3 separate regions of the Homo sapiens genome follow, and all the other regions are linked to region 1. Evidence: promoter capture Hi-C in 16 types of primary human blood cells and fetal thymus (Javierre and others, 2016). All regions are on one chromosome and are shown on one strand. Each heading gives the region's core, a stretch centred on a gene start or on the middle of the fragment in contact. The rest is flanking DNA. Distances are from core to core; before and after follow the strand shown.

Evidence for each region. Contacts are between HindIII fragments. The CHiCAGO score rates a contact against its expected background, and 5 or more counts as called.
Region 2: a fragment that was not itself captured here is called in contact with the fragment with the promoter of TIGD6 in region 1 in 1 of 17 cell types (erythroblasts); the score reaches 5.3 in erythroblasts.
Region 3: a fragment that was not itself captured here is called in contact with the fragment with the promoter of TIGD6 in region 1 in 1 of 17 cell types (erythroblasts); the score reaches 8.6 in erythroblasts.

The regions. Positions count from the first base shown.
Region 1 is chr5:149,999,092-150,002,407 of GRCh38, forward strand. It overlaps TIGD6 (tigger transposable element derived 6), which reads right to left and starts at 1,563. Exons shown (of 2, transcript NM_030953.4): 1 at 1,383-1,563. HMGXB3 (HMG-box containing 3) reads left to right here and starts at 1,648. Exons shown (of 20, transcript NM_014983.3): 1 at 1,648-2,088. RefSeq lists enhancers at 787-1,575, 2,463-2,542 and a silencer at 1,303-1,382. The HindIII fragment of the contact is 5,274 bases long and covers 1-3,174 here.
Region 2 is chr5:149,765,172-149,768,487 of GRCh38, forward strand. All of the region lies in intron 1 of PPARGC1B (PPARG coactivator 1 beta), which reads left to right. Among named protein-coding and RNA genes, the nearest start is that of MIR378A, 34 kb to the left of the region's middle. The HindIII fragment of the contact is 1,117 bases long and covers 929-2,045 here.
Region 3 is chr5:149,808,968-149,812,283 of GRCh38, forward strand. The region is part of intron 1 of PPARGC1B (PPARG coactivator 1 beta); the gene reads left to right. Among named protein-coding and RNA genes, the nearest start is that of MIR378A, 78 kb to the left of the region's middle. The HindIII fragment of the contact is 3,742 bases long and covers 1-3,316 here.

The sequences.
Region 1 (3,316 bases), core at 313-2,812:
TTCTTTGGAGAAGAAAGCAAGGACCAAATCACAGGAAGTCCTAGTCAGGTTTCTAGCTTGCTTTGGGGGCATTAAGAGGCTTTTGACGGTTTTTTGGTTTTGTTTTTCTGGAATGACATGATCAGATTTACAATATAGTCTTTTGGTTGCAGGGTAGAGAACCTAATGGGTAAAGTTGATTTTCCTAAGAGATGGCCTTAAATCTGAAGATAAAAGCAGGCTAAACCAGTAGGCCATATACAGTTTGGATGTTAATTTGAGTGCAATAGGAAGCTATTGAAGGATTTTAAGGAAGGAGAGATGACTGCTGTGTAAAGAATGGAAGGGTATCAGAGAAAAAAGCAGGAGTCCACATGAGATAATGGTGGCTTGGATTAGAGTAGTAATAGAGAGATGGTGAGTAGTAGTCAGTCTGGGGCTATGTTTTTGCAAGCCCTGTGCTGGACCGGATGTGAGGTGAAGGAGGAGTCAAGGATAACGCCCAGGTTTCTGGTTTGAGCACTGAGGAATCCAGCAGATGATGGTGCCATTTACTGAGGTGGGAGGATCTACTGCGTAAACCTCATTTGTTAAGCACTTTACTTGCTTAATATTGCTTACTTGTGGCAGGGCTGGGATTCAAACCCAGGAGGCTCACAACAAAGCTAGCACTCCAAACACTACAGAGTGCTATATAGCTGGTTCTGGGAACTACTAATATTGAGAGGAGACATAGAAAGAGAATGAAGCAAGAGCCAAATCAGACAAGTCTTGGTCAAGCTAAGACGTCTGAATTTTATTTTAAGTGAATGAGACACTGGAGGGTTTTAAGCAGGGAGTGACTTGATCAGACTTACAGTGCAAAATGATCAATCTGACTGCTTCGTGGAGAATGGATTGTAGAGGGGATGTGGGGAGAACTACATCAGTCCAGGCAGGAGATGATGGTGGCTAGAAGGTTGGTGATGGCGGTAGATGCAGAGAAGTAGGCAGACTGGAATACAGTGAGGGTTGTGCGGGAACTTGTACAAATGTGGACAACTTGTGACACTGGAGAGAAAGGACAATCCAATCCAATCCCTATTTGATTTACGGAAGCTCTCCATACGGTCATTCAGCTCAGCTTGAGTCACTCCAGGAACTCACTACCATCACTATTCGTGGGCCAGTGGGAGAGACGGATTGAGGGCAGATCACTGGAGTGATGAAGGCGCTACTTGATGCGGCACTACGTATGAACCCGATCCTGAATGAGAGGGAAAGACTGAGACAGGCTGAGGTCAGGCCTTGAACGTCGTGCTGAGGAGAGGGTGGTATTGTAGGCTTCCCAGCGCCCGACGTGGCTCTGAAAGGTGAGGCGGGGCCTAGATCCCTCACGCTCAGCACAGCCCCGCCCCTGTTACCTGAACGCCCCACAGCAGTGCCCGGGGGCTGAGCGGCCGGGGCGTCCCACCGCCGGCAGCCACAGCTTCCTCCTCCGCCCGGGACCTCTGGCCGGAAGCAGTCCGTTCGCCTTACTAGACCCGCTCCAAGCCTTTGAGCAGTTCGTGTGGGTCCGCTCCCAAGCTAGGGCTGGGCTGTTGCGCTTGCGCCAGGGGTCGCATGCAGTCACGCGCTGCCGACCGCTTCCGGTGCGCCGCGAGGGCCGCCGGGACGGGTCTCCCTGGCGATCCGTGGTGTGCCGCTACTGCCGGTGCAGCCGCCAAACCGGTGCCTCGGTGACGACCGTGTCCCTGCCGTCTTCCTCGAGCTCCCCGGGGCTTGACCCCCGGGGCCCTCGGCAGGCATCGGTGAGGAGCCTGCGGAGCGAACCTGTGCTCCTATTCTTGCCCTTCAGGACCCCATATCGCGACTCCGAGGAGGGGAAGCGAGAGGGGCTGTCGCGACTCCGCGCCGTGTGTCGCCGGGCGGGGCCGCGGGGCCGGGGCTCCTTCAGCCCCCGGGATGCGCGCGCGAGCCCTCGCCTCCACTTCCTTGTTGCTGCTGTCACGACTGGAGCCGCCTCTCGCCGACAGCGGGGAGCGCGAGTGCGCCAGCCATCCCCCTCGTCCAGCCGCCGGGCCAAGCGCCTCCGGGAATGTGAGCGGCGCAGCTTGCACGCTCCTCCGGGTAAGTCCCGCCTTCGAGGGCCGCGCCGAGCCGCTGGGCGACCTCGAGTTGGATGCTGCGGCTCTCTGAGCCTCTACTGAGTCTTCCACAAAGTAGGGCCACTGAGCCTTAGTGTCCTCCTTCCGCAATCCGTATGGGACATTCGGATGTCCCAGACGTCTTAGCTTGACCAAGACTTTGTCTGGTTTGGCTCTTGCTTCATTCATGACCCAGAATGAGGGAAAGGAGCTAGCCCAGAGTCAAACTGTGGCCCATGGCTGAGCCCTCAAAGGCAATCTCGTGAGATTCCAAGGAGGATCTGATGGGACAGAGAAAGTGTCTCGCATATTTCAGGTATTGACCTTAACTCTGTTTTACAGATGAAATAACGGAGACTTAGGGTAAGTAGATTGCTTAAGGTCAGAGGTCCCCGTGCTGGTGCGACTGGTGTAGTCTGTACTAGAACCCGGATTTTCTGTCCTCTAGAGCCCTTCGTTTTTAACCTTAAATTGTCCTGCCTTTTTTTGCATTGCTATACTGCTGCCTCGAGTCTGATAACAAACTTGTACTCAGGCTTAGAACAGGGTAATAAAACAAACAAAACCGTAGGGTGTTGTCTTCCTGCCCTCAGCCCAAGGTGGCTGTAATGAGTGTTTCCTAACCCGTTTTGCGCAGGGTGCTTAGTACCCTATATGCCATTCATTACAGATGCTCTCCTGCAGTTACTGCCCTTCTCCACAAGGCTTTCAGCCGCCCAGAAGTCAATTCAGGGCAAAAAAGCGCAGTCCCCACGTAGCCTTGATTTGAACTACTGCTTCCCTTATCCTTTACTGGCCTATTGCTTACCCAGCCAAGTTGTAGACTGTGTTCTCTTCCTGGGTTGCACTATGGCAGTTAGAATGTAGGTTTTTGTTTTGTTTTTCTTTGTTAGTTTAGTTTTTGTTTTTAATAGGAAGAGGAATCATTTAGAGATGACAGAGAACTAGGAAGAACCTAAGGAATAATGTGTGCTTTACCTGGGGTATATCCTGAAAATTATAGGTGAAATACAGTGTGTCTGCAATTTCTAGGAGAGGTTTTTTGTTGTTGTAGTTGTTTGTTTTTTTAAGCTTTCGCAACATTGTCAAAAGAATTCTTGCCTCCAAAAGACTAGGAGCCACTGGGTTCATCCTTTTCTCACAGTAGAAACAGTTGAAATTTAGGATGTGGAATAGACTTCTCTGAGATCATAAGGTTAGAGTTTAGGTCT
Region 2 (3,316 bases), core at 237-2,736, 230 kb before region 1:
TGGGTCAGCTTGTTAAAGGAGGCGAGAAGGCAGGGGAGGGAATATGCCTGGGCATGTAAGGCTCATCGGGACCTCGGTTACCATTTCACCTGTGCAAATTTTCAGGACTGAGTCTTTTCTCTATACTGCCCCACGAGGGGACTGACATTACTTAAGGCCTCTCTCCAGGACCCCGAGCTCAGGCCTAGCCCGATGGAGCAGAACCATCTCTGGAGCAGAACCACCCCTGACCAGAAGTCCAAAGATGTGAGACTGGGGTCAAATCTAGGTTTACTCCTAGTCGAGAAAATGGGAAGGACAATGTCATATCTCCTCTGGTCTGTGAGGTCGATGGCTGTAAAAGTTGCCCAGTGGTGAACTCAGTTAGGTCTTATCTGTTGCAGATTATGTCACTCCACCCCTCTGAGACTTCAGTTCCTTATTTCTAAACATCGACCAGCACTTTGGGAGGCCGAGGCGGGCGGATCACAAGGTCAGGAGATCAAGACCATCCTGGCCAACACGGGGAAACTCCGTGTGTACTAAAAAAAATACAAAAAATTAGCCAGGCGTGGTGGCGGGTGCCTGTAGTCCCAGCTACTCGGGAGGCTGAGGCAGGAGAATGGCGTGAACCCGGGAGGTGGAGCTTGCAGTGAGCTGAGATCGCGCCATTGCACTTCAGCCTGGGTGACAGAGTGAGACTCCGTCTCAAAAAAAAAAAAAAAAAAAAAATGGAGATAATAAAGCCCCAATCTGTGAGATTGTTTTAGGATTAAATTAGATAGTGTATTTAAAGTACTTGACAATACCTGGCACATAGTAATTGCCCAGTTTATTTAAGGCTGTTATTTTAATAAGGAGTTTTAAAAAAAATGAATACATATAGAAATGTTGTGATTACTAATCTGTGAACCAGTAGCAAAGCTATCACCTCTGAACCCTCAGGCAAAGCTTGGACCTTACAAATGATGTTGCCACCTTGTGGCAGCCTACTCAAATTGCAGGTTTAGTGTTTTTATTTTAAGTCTTGTTTTTAAATTTATGATTATGATTATGATAAGAAATCAGAAAATCTAAAGTTATGTGGTTTAGGCAACAAGGTAACCAGGAAGAACAGGCTAAAATAAAATATCTTTACTGGATTAAAAACAGAGTACCAGACCTAGCAGAGCCTTAATAATCAGTTAATCTATATATTTAAAGGTATCGCTTATTAAGGTCTTTTTCTAGGGCAGACAGCTTGACTAGCACTTTGCATCTATCCTTTGTAGTCCATCCTACTTAGCAAGATCAATATTATTAGTGTCATGTATTTCAAAAAGGGAAACTGAGGCTCAGAAGTAACTGAGTAACTTGCCTGATAACACAGAGCTTTCATGTGGCAGAGCTGGAAATGTGAACCAGGCAGGATGATGATTAAACCTCCTAGTAAGTAACCTCTCAACCAAAATATCTGTCCTGTTCCTGGATTCTAGAGGGTGTCACGGGCTGCATTCTTGATTTCTGCCATAGGGCCTGGGATTATACTCTGCAGTCCTGCCCGTGTCCTTGACAGAGCACAATAGCACCCATCATGATTTCATTGGATTCTACTAAAGGCAAATATGGGGTGATTATTAAATTATCTGTCCCCTCCTCCTCACTGCTCCCTGTCCCCCCACAAAGGCAGTTAGGTGGCCTCTTTGGGGAAAGTAGGTTTTCTCTGAATGGCTCTCAGAGAAGCAGGTTTCCTGCTTGCACTTTGAGAACCTGCATCTGGAACCAGCCCAGAGGGGTGGTAGCAGGGCTATGAGGAGGAAACAGAACCAGCATGTTCCTTTCCAAGTTGGTTCAGCTGACGAGGCTGTCGGAGATGAGGACCAGGTCCCTGCATTGAGTGGCTAGAGAGCTGTCCTGGAAACTCTTTGGTCCATGGTAAGGATATCCCTCATGCCAGGGGAGGAAGTCTTCCTTGCACTAGAAAACAACAGTCCTCTTTCTGTAAAGTTGGGCATCTCGGCCCATTTCCCTTGCTGGCTTTGCTGGGAGAGGAAGGTGTGGGTTGGGGTGTTCGGTTCACAGTGGTAAGCTTTGGGACCTATGTGGGTGTTCATGCAGGGAAGTCCCAGAGCCCACACATGCATGCTTGTGCCTCCAGCCTTTTTCCCCGCTCTATGAGATATGGTCTGGGAGAGGCAGACTAGAAAGATTCCTTGATAATGAATGATTGTTTAGAAATGATGGCTTATTCAGGACTCCCAGGGGAAGAGCCTTCTTCCTGATTTTTTTCTTTGCATTCATGGAGACATCAGGAAGCTTTGAAAGGCTGTGTGGAGAGATGGCATTAGGATGTGCTCACAGACATGGGGTCTCAGAGTAAGCAGAGTCAGATCTTAGAAGATGAGGCTGGAGCATCATTCCCATTGTAGGTAACAACCCTAGAAATCTAGAACCCTCTCAGTTCCTTCCCAAGTAAGAAAGCCTGTCTTAACATCCCTGGAAAATACAGTATCTATTCAGCTGTGTAGCTCCAGGGACTGAACATTCTCACTGGGGTATCCCATTCCCTTTGGACATCTGGCAGGATCACTGAGCTGGACTCCACTCCTCTGGAACTCTCTTTTGTCTACACCAGCGGTCTCCAACTTTTTTGGCACCAGGGACTGGTTTCATGGAAGACAGTTTTTCCACAGATGGGGTTGGGGGTGGGGGGTGGCGGATGCAGGGAAGATGGTTTCTGCATGATTCAAGTGCATTACATGTATTGTGTACTTTATTTCTATTATTATTACATTGTAATATGTAATGAAATAATTATCAACTCACCATAATGTAGAATCAGTGGGAGCCCTGAGCTTGTTTTCCTGCAACTAGATGGTCCCATCTGGGGGTGATGGGAGATAGTGACACCCAAAGTGGGTTGCTTATGTCCAGTCTCCTCCGTAATCTTGTTTTGGTTGCTGTCGCTGCAGAAAACCCTGCTTCACAGGGATAGGATGTTGGAAATAGAAGCAGGCTTTTCAGTGCTTTGTGGCAGTCTCCGGATATTCCGCCTTGATTTTAATCCAGAACGTATGGAGATTTGAAGTTGTCACAAATATATTTTTAAGGCCACCAGATGCAGCTTAATTGGCACTTGCCACTCAGCGATAGGGTTTTTCTTTAGACAAGGTCTGGCTCTGTCAGCCAGGCTGGAGTATAGTGGTGTGATCTTGGCTCACTACAACCTCCACCTCCCAGGCTCAAGCAATCATCCCATTTTAGCCTCCTGAGTAGCTGGGACTATAGGCACGTGCCACCATGCCTGGCTAATTTTTTTTTTTTTTTTTTTTGAGACAGAGTCTTGCTCTGTCGCCCA
Region 3 (3,316 bases), core at 296-2,795, 190 kb before region 1:
CTGCACACTTAAAAATGTTTAAAATGGGCCAGGCATGGTGGCTCATGCCTATAATCCTAGCACTTTGGGAGACCAAGGCAGGAGGACTGCTTGAGCCCAGGAGTTTGAGACCGGCCTGGACAACACAGAAAGACCCCTATCTCCACCTTAGATAGATAGATAGATAGATAGATAGATAGATAGATAGATAGATAGATCCATCTCTACCATAGATAGATAGATAGATAGATAGATAGATAGATAGATAGATAGATCCATCTCTACCATAGATAGATAGATAGATAGATAGATAGATAGATAGATAGATAGATCCATCTCTACCATAGATAGATAGATAGATAGATAGATAGATAGATAGATAGATAGATAGATCCATCTCTACCATAGATAGATAGATAGATAGATAGATAGATAGATAGATAGATCCATCTCTACCATAGATAGATAGATAGATAGATAGATCCATCTCTACCATAGATAGATAGATAGATAGATAGATCCATCTCTACCATAGATAGATAGATAGATAGATAGATAGATAGATAGATAGATAGATAGATAAGCAAGCAAGCAAGCTGGGAGTGGTGGTGTGCACCTGTAGTCCTAGCTACTAAGGAGGCTGAGGCGGGAGGATTGCTTGAGCCCGGGAATTCAAGGCTGCAATCAGCCATGATCATGTTACTGCACTCCAGCTCGGGCGACAGAGTGAGATCCTTTCTTAAAAAAAAAAAAAAAAAAAAAAAAAAATTAATCAATTTCATGTTATTTATATTTTACCACAATTTAAAAACATACTGATAAAAGGAGGCAGGGGATAGCAGAGAATGATAAGTGCTAATCGAGGGAATTCCAGCAGGGTGCTAGGTAGGCCAGAGACGGGATGGCCATTTGGGGTGCAGTGGTCAGGGAGGCCCATCTGGGGAGGGACGTTCAACCTGGGATGAGGATAGAAAGAAGGGAGCCGCTATGGGAGATGAAGGAGAGAGAAGGCGTTCCAGGCTGAGGAAGGCTCCAGCACAGAGGCCCCGGGGTGGACACTCAAGCCACACAACTGTTCCAGGAGGGAGGCTGGTCTTGAGAGATGCGGAGAGGGCAAGCAACTCCCTGTAACTAGCAAGTTATGAGCCAGGGCCAGCCCTGCCTCAACAAAGCCTAACAACATGTACCTGTACATCATTTTACAGTTTAGCAAGTGCTTTCCTGCCACTCTCCTTTGAATTCAAGAGGCCCTTGAGTTCAAGTGCATAAAATTGACTGTGAGTGCAGGCAGACACAATGTGTATATTACCCTGCCTTAAAACACCTTGCGCAGAATATACTTCAACCTTATTGTTTACAAACAAAATGAAACACTGCCTTCCTGGGCCTGGGGCAGGCTTGTACCTGCTGATAGGCCACCCTCCTGACAGGTGCCAGGATCCATGCTGCCGAAGGTGGGGTGGGGGGCCTAGCTGACCTCGGTGCTGAAGGAGGGGAGTCTGGGCTCTGCACAGCCACCTGCCAGGCCATCCAGGAGCTGCCTCACCCCAGGTCATCTCACCCCGACACAGCAACGAGAGACTTTGCAGATCTTCAGTGGATAAGGGGCTGCTTGCAGGCAATAGGAGTGGGTAAGGAGATGACTGTAAGATAACACCTACCCAGGAGACTGCCTGTTCTCTCTTTCCCTTATCATTTAAAGAGAGATGGATCTAATGTAGAACTTTTGGTGGATGGGCCACAGATGTTGAGAAAGTGGCCTGTCTGGAAACTGGTCTGGACAGGTCACACGGGAGATCCCGGTTTGTGTTCCGGCCCTGGGAGGAGCTGGCTGTGTGGATCTCGGGTGACTCCCTCTTCCCGCTTTCTCAGCCTCAATGTCTTAATTTGCAAATTGAGAGATTCATTCACAAAAAGTGTTACTCCAGACCCTTCCGGTACACAAAACCTTGGTTCTGTGTTATGGTAGTCCATCATAAGACTTTATTTCCTGTGTCATGGGGGCCAGAGCCTGTGTGCAGTAGTCACCTTCTTATCTAATGAGAGTGGAAACTACGGCTGGGAGGTGCAGGGAGGCTGCAGAGGGGAATTCCTAGGAAAAAGTCAGATAAAGCGCAAAATTGTGAAACACATGCCTACGTTGTCTTTTAGCGAAGCCATATGACATGTATATTCATTTTTGCCAGTCTTTTGCTATAGGACTGTTTGTGGTGCCAGCATTGAAACCGCAAGTCATCTTCCCTCCATAGTCCACACCCACAGTGCCAGGGTTCTAGTTTCCAGTTTCAGGATGCATTCAGCTGGATCAAGAACTTTGACTCTTGTCAAGCAGTCTGAGTGCTGAATCTTTCTTGATTCTTGCAAATTTCTCATAATCTTTTACCATGAACTCATTCACATGAAATTTGATGGCAGTGTTGTTTGCTTTTTAGCAGCTCAACTTTATTGAATCCTTCCACAGCCTTCAACTTAGTTTTCATTGAAATCTCGTCTTTTGTACTCATATTTTCTGTTTACGGACCAGTTAGTGAAATTTTGTAATTACACTATCGAGTGGGTTTGGGAAGAAACAGCTGAATCTTAGTAAATAAACAACTAAGTCGGTGGGAGCAGACCAGCTGAGGCTCTCAGGCACCTTAGGCATTAGTAAAGGGTGTTATTACAGGAGAGGGTGGGGAGTGTTGGTTAACCAAGTTGGTTGGTCAAGTAGAGGCTGGTTAGGAAAGCCCCTGTTATACCAAAGGCCTGAGATGGCCTGGATGGGATTAGCTTTGGCTGCAAGTAGCAGAAAACTCCCTCCAAATGATAAGAAGTTTGATGAGCTCTGAGTTGAGTCCTCTCTCAGATCCTGAGATAGGTGTCCCAGGGCAGTGTCAGGGATCCTGGCTTTCTCCATCCTGTTGCCCTGCCTACCAGGCAGAGCTGCCTTGGTCCCTGGAAACTGGGCTTCTTACTGGTTGGCTGGGTCTGGCCCAGCCTTGGAGCTCAGTTCTGAGCACTGGACCCCATCTTCTTCTCTGGACTGGAAGATCCACTCCCGCCAGACCTGGTGACCTCCTGTGGGGTCGCCTTACTCCAAGCCCTGACCAGGTACCTACTTGGCTAAGGCTTGGAGCCCGGCTGTGAAGGGCTGAGAATCACCAAGGTTGAGCTCTGCAAGCCTGAACCCGGATGCTTCCGCACAGAAAGGGCCTTGGATGCTGGGTTGAGATCTTTTGCCTTAAATGTTTTGGTGGGAGGCCCTTCCAATGGTCTGGTTTATCTCTGAGTTTAAGATGTTCTGTTCTTCTAGGCTGGGCTCAGAGCCCCTCTCTTCTGTCTACTTATTTTGTCTGGA